Regions from separate parts of the Homo sapiens genome. Here regions 1, 2 and 4 are each linked to region 3. The links are contacts of gene promoters, found by promoter capture Hi-C in blood cells and fetal thymus (Javierre and others, 2016). All regions are on one chromosome and are shown on one strand. The core of a region is centred on a gene start or on the middle of the fragment in contact, and the rest is flanking DNA. Distances in the headings are between cores, read along the strand shown. Region 1 overlaps CAND1.11 (a long non-coding RNA gene). Region 2 overlaps CAND1.11 (a long non-coding RNA gene). Region 3 holds the start of IRAG1 (inositol 1,4,5-triphosphate receptor associated 1). Region 4 overlaps CAND1.11 (a long non-coding RNA gene).

The links. Contacts are between HindIII fragments. The CHiCAGO score rates a contact against its expected background, and 5 or more counts as called.
Region 1: a contact is called between a fragment that was not itself captured here and the fragment with the promoter of IRAG1 in region 3, in 1 of 17 cell types (neutrophils). The highest score is 6.2, in neutrophils.
Region 2: a fragment that was not itself captured here is called in contact with the fragment with the promoter of IRAG1 in region 3 in 9 of 17 cell types (M2 macrophages, megakaryocytes, naive CD4 T cells and 6 more); the score reaches 8.7 in M2 macrophages.
Region 4: a contact is called between a fragment that was not itself captured here and the fragment with the promoter of IRAG1 in region 3, in 1 of 17 cell types (neutrophils). The highest score is 8.2, in neutrophils.

Annotation. Positions count from the first base shown.
Region 1 is chr11:10,372,562-10,375,263 of GRCh38, forward strand. All of the region lies in intron 2 of CAND1.11 (a long non-coding RNA gene), which reads left to right. Among named protein-coding and RNA genes, the nearest start is that of CAND1.11, 66 kb to the left of the region's middle. The HindIII fragment of the contact is 1,256 bases long and covers 703-1,958 here.
Region 2 is chr11:10,414,967-10,417,782 of GRCh38, forward strand. All of the region lies in intron 3 of CAND1.11 (a long non-coding RNA gene), which reads left to right. Among named protein-coding and RNA genes, the nearest start is that of AMPD3, 39 kb to the right of the region's middle. RefSeq lists a silencer at 1,095-1,308. The HindIII fragment of the contact is 6,018 bases long and covers 1-2,816 here.
Region 3 is chr11:10,692,321-10,695,063 of GRCh38, forward strand. It overlaps IRAG1 (inositol 1,4,5-triphosphate receptor associated 1), which reads right to left and starts at 1,435. Exons shown (of 21, transcript NM_130385.4): 1 at 1,216-1,435. The coding sequence starts at 1,282. The HindIII fragment of the contact is 5,409 bases long and covers 270-2,743 here.
Region 4 is chr11:10,390,236-10,392,935 of GRCh38, forward strand. All of the region lies in intron 2 of CAND1.11 (a long non-coding RNA gene), which reads left to right. Among named protein-coding and RNA genes, the nearest start is that of AMPD3, 64 kb to the right of the region's middle. RefSeq lists an enhancer at 2,079-2,700. The HindIII fragment of the contact is 1,376 bases long and covers 710-2,085 here.

The DNA.
Region 1 (2,702 bases), core at 81-2,580, 320 kb before region 3:
GTCAGTCCTCTTCAATTAGGGCACAAATGGGATGATTTTTTTCCTCACAAGTTGATGTGGATGGTCGGTCACTGCAGGCTTCATCTTCAACATTGTCTCATCCTTTCTTAAAATGAGGTATCTGTTTGCAAACTGCTGATTTCTTTGGGGCTTTGTCCCTATAAACTTTTGTAAAGCATCAGTGATTTTATCATTCTTCCACCCAAGCTTCACCATAAATCTGATGTTTGTTCTTCAATTTTAGTAGAATTCATGTTGGTCTGATAGAGGCTCTTTTCAAACTCATGTCTTATCCTCCTTAGTGCCTCAAACTAGATTCTGTTCAACATATTATAACAAGTTAGTATGAGTTTATGTTGGTGCAGAAAAAATTTTAAATCCATGCATAGTTTTCTCATAAGACACATTTTTCATAAACTTTGTGAAGTCTCTTTGTATGTGAGATAATGGTTATGTTAATTTTTAGTCATTCCACAATGTAGTCATTATCAAACATCATGTTGTGCATGTTGCACAAATATATACACTTTCATTTGTCAATTAAATAGAAGTTCAAAGAGTGGACATATTATGAAGTATAGTATACTGCAAGATAGAAATGAATTTGAAAAATTAAACTTGGGGGAAAAAGCACTTACCATGTGACTATTTTAAACTATTTACTACTTGAAAACAAACAGTTCATGAACATCATCTTTTTCAAGCTTTGAAATAATCTATAAGGTGGATATTATTCCCATTTTTCAGATGAGGAACCTGACATTACATAACTTGCTTCTTTCAAGTGCCTCCTCCAAAGGGCAAAGCTGGGGCCACACAGGTGGGTGCCTACCACCCTTAAAGGCACAGTCGTCTGGTGTCCCCATCTGACGCAAACAGTCCAACTCTTGTGTTGTGAACACAAGTAGATCCACTCCTTTTTGAGACCGATTCCCTGGAAGGGAGCCCATGCCACTGCCTGGCCCAAGACTCTTGGCTGCAGGAAGCTGACCTGCTTTTATCCATGGAGTCAGCAAAATGTGAAGATAATTTATAATAGCCATTAGCAGAGTGCATTTGAGGTCAAGTATGAACCTCCTGCACTTCAGCTCTACACAGATCTGTGCAGGAGCAAAGAGGAGTCAAATTTCTGGAAGCAATCTAACCATAACAAATGAAGACTGTGTTGCTTCAAGGCTTTTAGGTAAGTGCTAAAGGGGAGATGGAGAACAACAGTGTGAACATACTTAACACTACTGAACTGTACACTTAAGAATGGTTAAGATAGTAAATTTTCCATTGTGCGTGTGTTTTTTTGCCACAATTAAAAATAAAAATAAAAAAGGAGATGGTCTCCTTTTTTATTTTTATTTTTAATTGTGGCAAAAGTGATGATCTATAGCCTGCACAGATATAGATCAGATCTATTACTGATAATTCTCCATATTTATCAGTTGGTAAATGGGACCTGTAAAGGAAGTGTGGGTCTGTGTGGGATATAGATCATCAAGATAGAGAAGTGGGGGAGCAGATGCACAGTCAGATCAGGCAGAGGTAGACCATAAAAGGCCGTCACAGAAACTCTACCTGTAGCCAGTTTCATTCTGGTGAGGAGGATTGGCAGTTAACCTCAGGCCCCTAGGCCATGACTGTACTTTATTCAAAGTCACTGTATATGTGTATACATGTATACACACACACACACATATGTGTATATATGCCTATATATACACACATATCTGTATATATGTGTATGTACATGTATATACATAGACCTATATGTACATGCATACAAATGCATATACATGTATATACACATATATGCATGCATGTGTATGTATATGTATGTTTATGCATGCATGCATGTTTATCTATATGTATGTATAATTCACAAACCATATTACATGGTTAATGTCATAGGGGGATTTAGGTCTTTCAAACGATCCTTTTGTCATCTTTACAAAGTCCTGAATCACAGAAGCTTTTGTTCAGGAGGGAGGTCTGAATGAATGGACCTGCTGGCATTGTAGTCATCATTCCTGGGCTGAGTGTATGTCCCAGATGAGCTGTCTCCTGTGCCTATCTGTTTGGGCTACATGTTAGACCAGAAGCAGCACACAGAAAGCCAGCAAGGCAGAAACAGCACCATGATTCTGATTGTCTAATGGGAAGATCCAGCCTCTCTTCTCTTGACCAGACTTAGCTGCAGGCTCCCTGGGAGATAGGACCCTGACACATCTCTCAGAGAGAAGCCCTGCCAGTGACAAGGTAAGCGACAAGTCTGGGAACAAGTTTGGAAATCTTGGCTTCTTTTGAAATGAATGAGGCCTTGGATGCTGGGAGTGGGGCAGTGGGGAGGGAAGCTGTGGCTCTTGTTTTTTGCTCATGGAGAAATGGAAGGCCTTTAGAGAAACAGGTATTGACTTAGAGGTATAAAACTGGAGTGGCAACTGATTCCCAGAACTTTAGAGCTCTCTCCTCTTTTTCAAGGTTCTGGGATGGTATGTAAGTGTATCCCTTCTGCCTAGCCAGCTTTCCTATCTCTAGACCGGAGAGGACCCTCTCTCTGACCTTTGACCCTGCCATACCTAGCACAGGACTTAAAAGTGGCTCCTGTTGCATCCCATGGCGAGTGCAGACAGCCCTATCCTATACCCTTTTCATTCCTCTTAGCTTGGTATACAACAGTCTTTTCCCCTAGTTTATAATCTGTGAGGGCTGAC
Region 2 (2,816 bases), core at 305-2,804, 280 kb before region 3:
TCTCTTTTCTTTTTTCCTTTGAGATGGGGTCTCGTTCTGCCGCCAGGCTGGAGTGCAGTGGTGTGATCTCGGCTCACGGCAACCTCTGCCTCCTGGGTTCAAGCGATTCTCCTGCCTCAGCCTCCGGAGTAGCTGGGACTACAGGCGCACACCACCATGCCTAGCTAAGTTTTGTATTTTTGGTAGAGACGGGGTTTCACCATGTTGGCCAGGATGGCCTCGATCTCTTGACCTTGTAATCCACCCGCCTCGGCCTCCCAAAGTGTTGGGATTACAGGCGTGAGCCACCACGCCCGGCCGACACATTCTTATTAACTTGATGGCACAGTTGGCTGGCAGGTTCCCAGGTCATGTTCTCAGTGATTGGAGTTCTTGCTGTTTCTTGGACTCCTTCATGTCTCACCCAGTCCTAAGTCCCTTCCTTGCTTCTTAATTAATTTATGTCCTTGTGTAATATGTGGCACACCCACATAGCCATGAGGCATGTTCAGGCTGTGTTTTTTAATGTTCTGGCTTGTTCTACATTTGCCAAGTGGGCAAGGACAGCAGTTACCTGATTGGCTCCATTTGGGCAGCAGAACCTAAACAGTGACTACCTGTTGGAATCCACCTGGCCTAGGTATCTTTTGTTTGTTTGTTTAAATAACAACAAGCATTTCTTATGGTGTTTTGTTTTCTCCTGAACTCTGTAAAGACAATGGCAACACAGAGGTCAGTCTAGAATGACTATACTGGCACTAGGAGATGAGAACTATACAAGTGGAATTAAGCAAATGTATAGACACAAAATCATCACAAAAAGGGTGAAGTGCTGTTCAGTTATTGATGCCAGTCCCTCTTCTCTAGGGGACTGTGACAGCTGTAGCCAGATGTGTCCAGGAGATTATCTCTGTCCTGATTCTGTCAGCATCCTCTTCATTTATTGTCTGGTTTTGCTTCTAAGTCTTCTTCTGCATCTCAAGCTGTCTGCATGCCATACTGTCTGCATTGAAATGATTTGCTTGCTTAAAATGAGTCTTGGCCAGGTGCAGTGGCTCACGCCTGTAATCCCAGCACTTCGGAGGCCAAGGACTCCTGAGGTCAAGAGTTCGAGAGAAGCCTGGCCAACATGGTGAAACCTCATCTCTACTAAAAATACAAAATTAGCCAAGTGTGGTGGCACATACCTGTAATCCCAGCTGAGACAGGAGAATCGCTTGAACCCGGGAGGCAGAGGCTGCCGTGAGCCGAGGTGCCACTGCACTTCAGCCTGGGCAAGACAGAGGGAGACTCTGTCTCAAAAAAAAAATGGGTCTTAATATCAATAGTGGGGAATTCTCAGTCTCTCCATCAGCAGGTGCTGAAAGCTCACAATAAAGGAGAAAATTTTCAATAGCTGTTTTTTTTTTTAAGAGATGGGGTCTTGTTCTGTTACCCAGGCCAGATGCAGTAGTGTGGTGATCATGGCTCACTGCAGCTTCAACCTCCCTGGGTCAAGTGATCTTCCCGCGTCAGCCTCCCAAGTAGCTAGGACTACAGGTGTGTGCCACCAGACCCAGGTGATTTTTAATATTTTATAGACATCTTGCTATGTTGCTCAGGCTGGTCTCAAACTCCTGGACTCAAGCAATCCCGCCATCTTAGCCTCCTGAGTTGCTGGGATTATAGGCGTGAGCCACTGCTCCCGGCCCAGTAGTCATGTTTTTGAGGAAGTTTATTTTTATCCAGTATGTTTGGCTCTGCATGGGTTCCTTAAGATACTAGGGACTGTCTTTGGGTCACAAAGCCAGCATGACACTAACATGGGTCTCAATATCCTTTGCTTGATAGCTTTGGACCTGAACATCACCTGACAGCTCCACACACTGTGTTCTGGCTTGTTCCTAATCCTGCCAGTTCCTGACCTGCCATTGTTCCATGTTTGGCTTCACCTTGTCTTTTGCACCTGACATTTGGTCCGTGCTGCTGGCTCTATTCCACCTATGGCAACCTGAATAAAAACTCTCTTTCCAGCCTTGTTTCTAAAGCTCTTCCTTGGCCCAGATCCCCCTAGGTGGCTTCTACCAGCCTTGTCCAGTTGAGGAGCATGGCCTAGACACCTGTGAGGGTCTCTGCCTGCCTCCAGCTGTGCCCAGGATTGGCTTCTCCTCAGCTGTGCCTCATGCTGGGCCACATCATGGGAGCAGGCTGGTCAGCAGGGGTGGATGCTGACCTACAAAGGGCTCCTTACTGCCAAAAGTCATTGATTCCCCATCCTTCTGGTCTACCATTAAACATCTGTAGCCACTTAGGGTTTTGACTTTTAACTATTTCTTGACCACATACCTCCATTACCCTCCAGAGAGCACCCTTTTAGAAATAAATGTAATAGTTACTACATTTGTTCAATGATTTACAGTCAACAGAGCACTTTAGTATATTCACATGTATTATCTCATTTCCATACTTTCTTTTTTTAAGCAAACATAAAATAATTTTATCAGATACAACAAAAATTAAAACATAACAAAAGTATCACATATAATGTTATATTCCCATTTAAATATAACATAGAAAAATACTACAAAATAAGAAATACAAAACCAAAACCTAGATAAGATTTTATTTATTATGATGGGTGTGCTTGCCTGTTCATAAGTTCATTCCAGTCTGGAACACAGGAAGATAATGCTACCCACATAGCTGCTGCACCATTTGATCCATTCCTTTCTGTTGCTTTTAACTGAGTTAAGATAGAAAACCCTAGTTCACACAAACTAGTTGTTGTGAATGGTAGTAATAGTAGGACACTCTTTCTACTTAACAAAGGAAAGTCTTCCTTTACCTTAATTCAAAAT
Region 3 (2,743 bases), core at 185-2,684:
ACGTCTGTGTTGAGAGGCATGGGCACTGGAGTTAGAGTCATACAAACTCATACAGGGTTTGAGTCCTAGCTCCGCTCCATCTTGGTGGAACGACCTTAGGCAAGTCACTTAACCTGAGTTCCCTCCCCCATAGAACTGTTGGGGTAGGGGAGTGCAGGGGGATGGGCAACTCCACCTGCCTCACTAGCATGTCATCGTCCCTCGGTGGGGGCAATACAATCCTTGGCAGGTCCTGACTCCTTTGGACCCCCAGCCTCACAGTCCCAGGAAGCTTCCTCCTTTTCCCTGCAAAAGACTCTGCTCAGACCAGATTTACTTCCCTGTGCCACCCCAGTGAGCAGCCTGAAGAGTGTTCAGCAGCTGCCGAGCTCTGGGAGGCTGGAGTGCTGGCCAGGGGTCCCAGACCCCGGGCTGCTGTTTACTCAAACTGCAGAGCCTCTATAGCCTTTACAACTGTTTCCTGGGCAGGAGGGAGCAAGACAGCTGGGCCTCTCTCTGGCCTCTGGCTTCCACTGGCTTTTCCTTTGGAAAAAGCCAGTTCAAATGGTGCTCACTCTAGGAATCGCTTCAACTCGGAGCCCTGGAGGTGAGCAGGGCCGGGCACGGGCCGGGCACATACACCCCCTCTAGGGAGCAGGGAAGGGCACAGGCCAGGGGAAGCTGGAGACAAAAGAGGAGACAGGGACAGAGATAAAAACAGGGACTGTGACAAGAACACAGGATGGGAAGGGCAGAGACAGAAATAGAGGCAGGCTTAAGGATCTAGACAGGTCATGCCAGCCCAGGTTCAAGGCAGAGGGGCGTAGGGGGACAGAGAGAGAGACACAGGAAGCACAGAGGGGAGAAAGCTCTGCTTAGCAGACTTGCCAAAGCTGAAGACCCCACTGTTGCCACAAAGGGGCCCACAGGAAAGCTAGGGGTTGCAATCGCCTGTCAGGACCCACATTTTCACCCTGAGCTGTGCACACTTTCCAACGGCAAGCAAAAGGAGCACAATCTAGTTAAGTTAGGACTGGCAAGATTCACTTCTGATTTAAAACTTAAGACAGCAACAATAAAGATACTCAGCTGAAATGCCACCCAACAAAGCCAGCTCCCCTGGAAAGTTAAAGTTTAGCACCCCCATCCCAGCACCCTGTACCTTTAAGGAAGAGAAGGTTCCCTCCGCTTCCCAGCCGAAGAGGCAGGTTATTCTAGGATATAGGGGAGGCTTACCTAAAACTGAGTTATTCTCCTTTCCTCCTCTGGCCAGCCTCTCTTCACTCTGGGGAGCTTTTACCATTTAAGGTCAATGTTACATCTGGCTCCGGAGCTCAGAGCCGAGAAGCCTCTGGCTGCAGAACCTCGGCCGCACGCCTCCTCTGAGAGGGGCTGGGACTTAGAGCCGAGAGCTCCTCTGGGAGCCCCACTCCGGCCTGGCTCGGGGGATAATGGCAGGGAAAGCCGACCAGCTGGCCTCAGGGCTCAGGGCAGGCTGGGCCTTTGGGGCAGTCGCTCACCCTGGGCCCCTCCGATGGGTATCCACACAGCAGATGGCAGTCCCCATGGCAACTCGTGCCACTGGACACTGTCCTGGCCGGACGGGAACAAAGGGACCCTGCAGATCTCCCCACCCGCCTGGAGCCTCCAGCAAGCATGTGAGCCTGGAGAAGACCCTGGGCCAGCGCCAAGAGAAACTGGGAATGGTTCCTGTCCTGGGGATTCGGGGGCAGGGGCTGCTCCCACTGCGTTAAACTCTTGGGATTGCCAGAGAGAATGGCCTGGGAGATTCAGCTACTCCCAGACTTGGCACCAGCCCCAGGGATGTCAACCTTGCTCCTCCATTAAACAGCCTGTGGTCTTAACATCGTGGAGCCTCAGTCTCCTCATCTCTAAAGTGGAAATAATAATGATAATGCCCGACTCACTAGGTAGTCAGGGGATTAAATGAGATGTTAGTCAAGTGTTTAACACACTGCCAGCATCTCATAAGAGCTAGATCAGTATGAATGAGCTTCCTGCCCCTGCCCAGGAAATCCATACCCTGTCCATACACACTCTTCACCTGCCTTGGGTATAGGGCCTACCCAAGGCCAGGATCATGGAGCTCCAAGCTGGGGGCAAGCCACATGGGGACTTCAGCCCCTTCTGTGGTTAGAGCAGCACAGAGAAACCCTAGGTAAAGTTGCTAGATAAATTACAGGACACCCATTTAAATTTGGATTTCAGATAAACACAGGACATACTTGTATTAAAGACTGTTATTTATCTGAAATTCAAATTTAATTAGTCATCCTCTATTTTTGTTTGATAAATCCGGGAACCCTAGCTTTTGGCCATCATTAGCCACCCAGAAAACATTCAGTAGTCATGGTAGAGAGCACTAGGGATTGGAGCTCCCAGGCCTATGGCCTCAAGCTCTCCTGGCAAACACAGTCCTTATGCTCAGCTCCTGGCCACAGATCAGTTGTGCAGCAGTGGCAGATGCTCTCCACTGAGCCTGGCCCACTGAGCCTCCATCCCAGCACCTTCCTCAGGCATGTGGTTCTCAGGAAGTCCTGTCTCTTCTGTGTGGTTGTTGTAAGAGAGATCACTAACAGGGGTGCAGCGCATGAAGTCCGCTACCCTCATCAATAATTGTTTTTTGTAAATGAAACCAGAGGAGGCTGTCTTGGGTACTAGCCATGCTTTCTCTCAAGTGTCCACACCTGTCCACATGGAGGTACAGGCTCCCCCCACAACCCCCGTCCCCCACAAAGCCACA
Region 4 (2,700 bases), core at 148-2,647, 300 kb before region 3:
ATTCTCCCTGTCATGATGCAGGCAGGTATTACCTGAGCACATGCAAGCCTGACTTATCCTAATCTCTTTCTCATCTAGGTGCTAAAATGACATTTTCTCTGAACTTGGGACTATAGAATTCTTGCTAGTGCAGGGTCTGTTCTGTTCAGTCACCACCCATTCCTCAGACATGGTTTCTATTGCCTTTTGCCCACAGCTGAAATTCCCCCATCCATCCATCCATCTATCCATCCACCCATCCATCCACCCATCCAGTCATCTAATAAATGTATCTGCCAAGTCCTGTGTAAACAACTCAGGCATGGTTTCTTCCTGCAAGGAGCCTTGTGTCTGCCTCAAGCCCTGCCTCTGTCTGGCAGGACCTGGACTGTCTCCAGCTGGACTTGCTAATATGTCTCCAGTCTAGGCTCATTCTTATGGGGATAGCAGACAATGGCAGGGAGACTGGCAATAAACATGTAAACATATAATTAATTGTCAACTGCTAATTGGCTTAATGTTATATAAAGAATAAGACTGCAAAAGAAAATGACAACAAATTATGAGGGCACCTACTTAGGAAGGGTATTAGGAGTAGGCTTTCTGAGGAAGTGACCTTTAAGCTAAGATCTGAAGGATGTCATAGGGGAAAAAAATGTGCAGAGAACAGAAAACAAAAAGTGCTAAGGCCCTGAGGTGGAGAAGGAAACATGTTCCAGAACTGGAAAGAAGCTTGATGTGGCTGAAGTACAGCAAATGAGAAAGTGGCATAAAATGAGACCAGGGAAGAAGGCAGGAGACATATTCATGCACAGCTTTTTGGCCTTGGTGAGGAAGTTATAAAAGGAAAGAGCTAAAGCAGAAATTGATGTGATCTGATTTAAAAGATTGCTCTAGCTGCTACGTGGAAAATAGATTGGAGAGGGGGTCACATGGAAGCAAGGAACTGCTGGTCTTTTAGCCAAGGGATGATGGGTGGCTTAATTTGATGGGACAGCACTGGAGACAAGTTTGGGGTATAGAGTAGGATGTGGTGGGCAAGGGAGACTTCATGTACTTTTGCCACATTTCTGCTTGAGAAACTGAGTGAATAGTGTAGGGGTGGGTTGCCCCTCCACACCTGTGGGTGTTTCTCGTAAGGTGGGACGAGAGATTTGGAAAAGAAAAAGACACAGAGACAAAGTATAGAGAAAGAAATAAGGGGACCCGGGGAACCAGCGTTCAGCATATGGAGGATCCCGCCAGCCTCTGAGTTCCCTTAGTATTTATTCATCATTTGTGGGTGTTTCTCGAAGAGGGGGATGTGTCAGGGTCACAAGACAATTGTGGGGAGAGGGTCAGCAGACAAACACGTGAACAAAGGTCTTTGCATCATAGACTATGTAAAGGATTAAGTGCTGTGCTTTTAGATATGCATACACATAAACATCTCAATGCTTTACAAAGCAGTATTGCTGCCCGCAGGTCCCACCTCCAGCCCTAAGGCGGTTTTTCCCTATCTCAGTAGATGGAGCATACAATCGGGTTTTATACCGAGACATTCCATTGCCCAGGGACGGGCAGGAGACAGATGCCTTCCTCTTGTCTCAACTGCAAGAGGCATGCCTTCCTCTTATACTAATCCTCCTCAGCACAGACCCTTTACGGGTGTCGGGCTGGGGGACGGTCAGGTCTTTCCCTTCCCACGAGGCCATATTTCAGACTATCACATGGGGAGAAACCTTGGACAATACCTGGCTTTCCTAGGCAGAGGTCCCTGCGGCCTTCCGCAGTTTTTGTGTCCCTGGGTACTTGAGATTAGGGAGTGGTGATGACTCTTAAGGAGCATGCTGCCTTCAAGCATCTGTTTAACAAAGCACATCTTGCACCGCCCTTAATCCATTTAACTCTGAGTTGACACAGCACATGTTTCAGAGAGCACAGGGTTGGGGGTAAGGTTATAGATTAACAGAATCTCAAGGCAGAAGAATTTTTCTTAGTACATAACAAAATGGAGTCTCCTATGTCTACTTCTTTCTACACAGACACAGTAACAATCTGATCTCTCTTGCTTTTCCCCACAAATAGTGGTGTCTTTAACTGAGATATGAAGATCACAAGCAGAGAAGCTTCCGAGTTCAGGGAGGAAATCCAGAGTTCGGATTTGAGCATGTTAAGTTTGAGATCTCCGTTAGACATCCACGAAGGTCAGGTAGGCACTTGAATAAATGAGACTGGAACTCAGAAGAGGCTTGGGCTGGAGCGAAAGCTGAATTGTCAGCATATGGAGAATAGGTAAGGTAGGAGGGACACCCTCTTATCTGTTTCCCTGGGAGCCTTGCACTAAAGCTAAGGTCTTTCAAACAGACTTGAGTAAAGGCATCAGGGGTGGGGGACCTGGAATACCCTTCCAATATGAGGGCTCTTGGGTTCCTGCAGGGCCAGGACTGTGCATAATAGTGATTCAACTGGGGCAGGAGAACTTTCTTGGCTCCACTGGGGCTGGCCTTTCTTAGGATTGTTTTAAATTCCATTGATTATTCTTTGCTTTGCTCTGGAAACAACTACTCTTTATGTAAGCCCTCTCTGAAAGTGACAAATCATGGAAAAATTCTTTTGGATTTGAATGCAGTGAAGGCAGAGAGGGCGCATCTTGCTTTGTGGTGTGGAGGCCATGCTGAGGATGTGCCGCGGGCCAGAGAGCTGGAAAGTGGGTTCAGGCAGCCAGGCTGAGTCAACCCT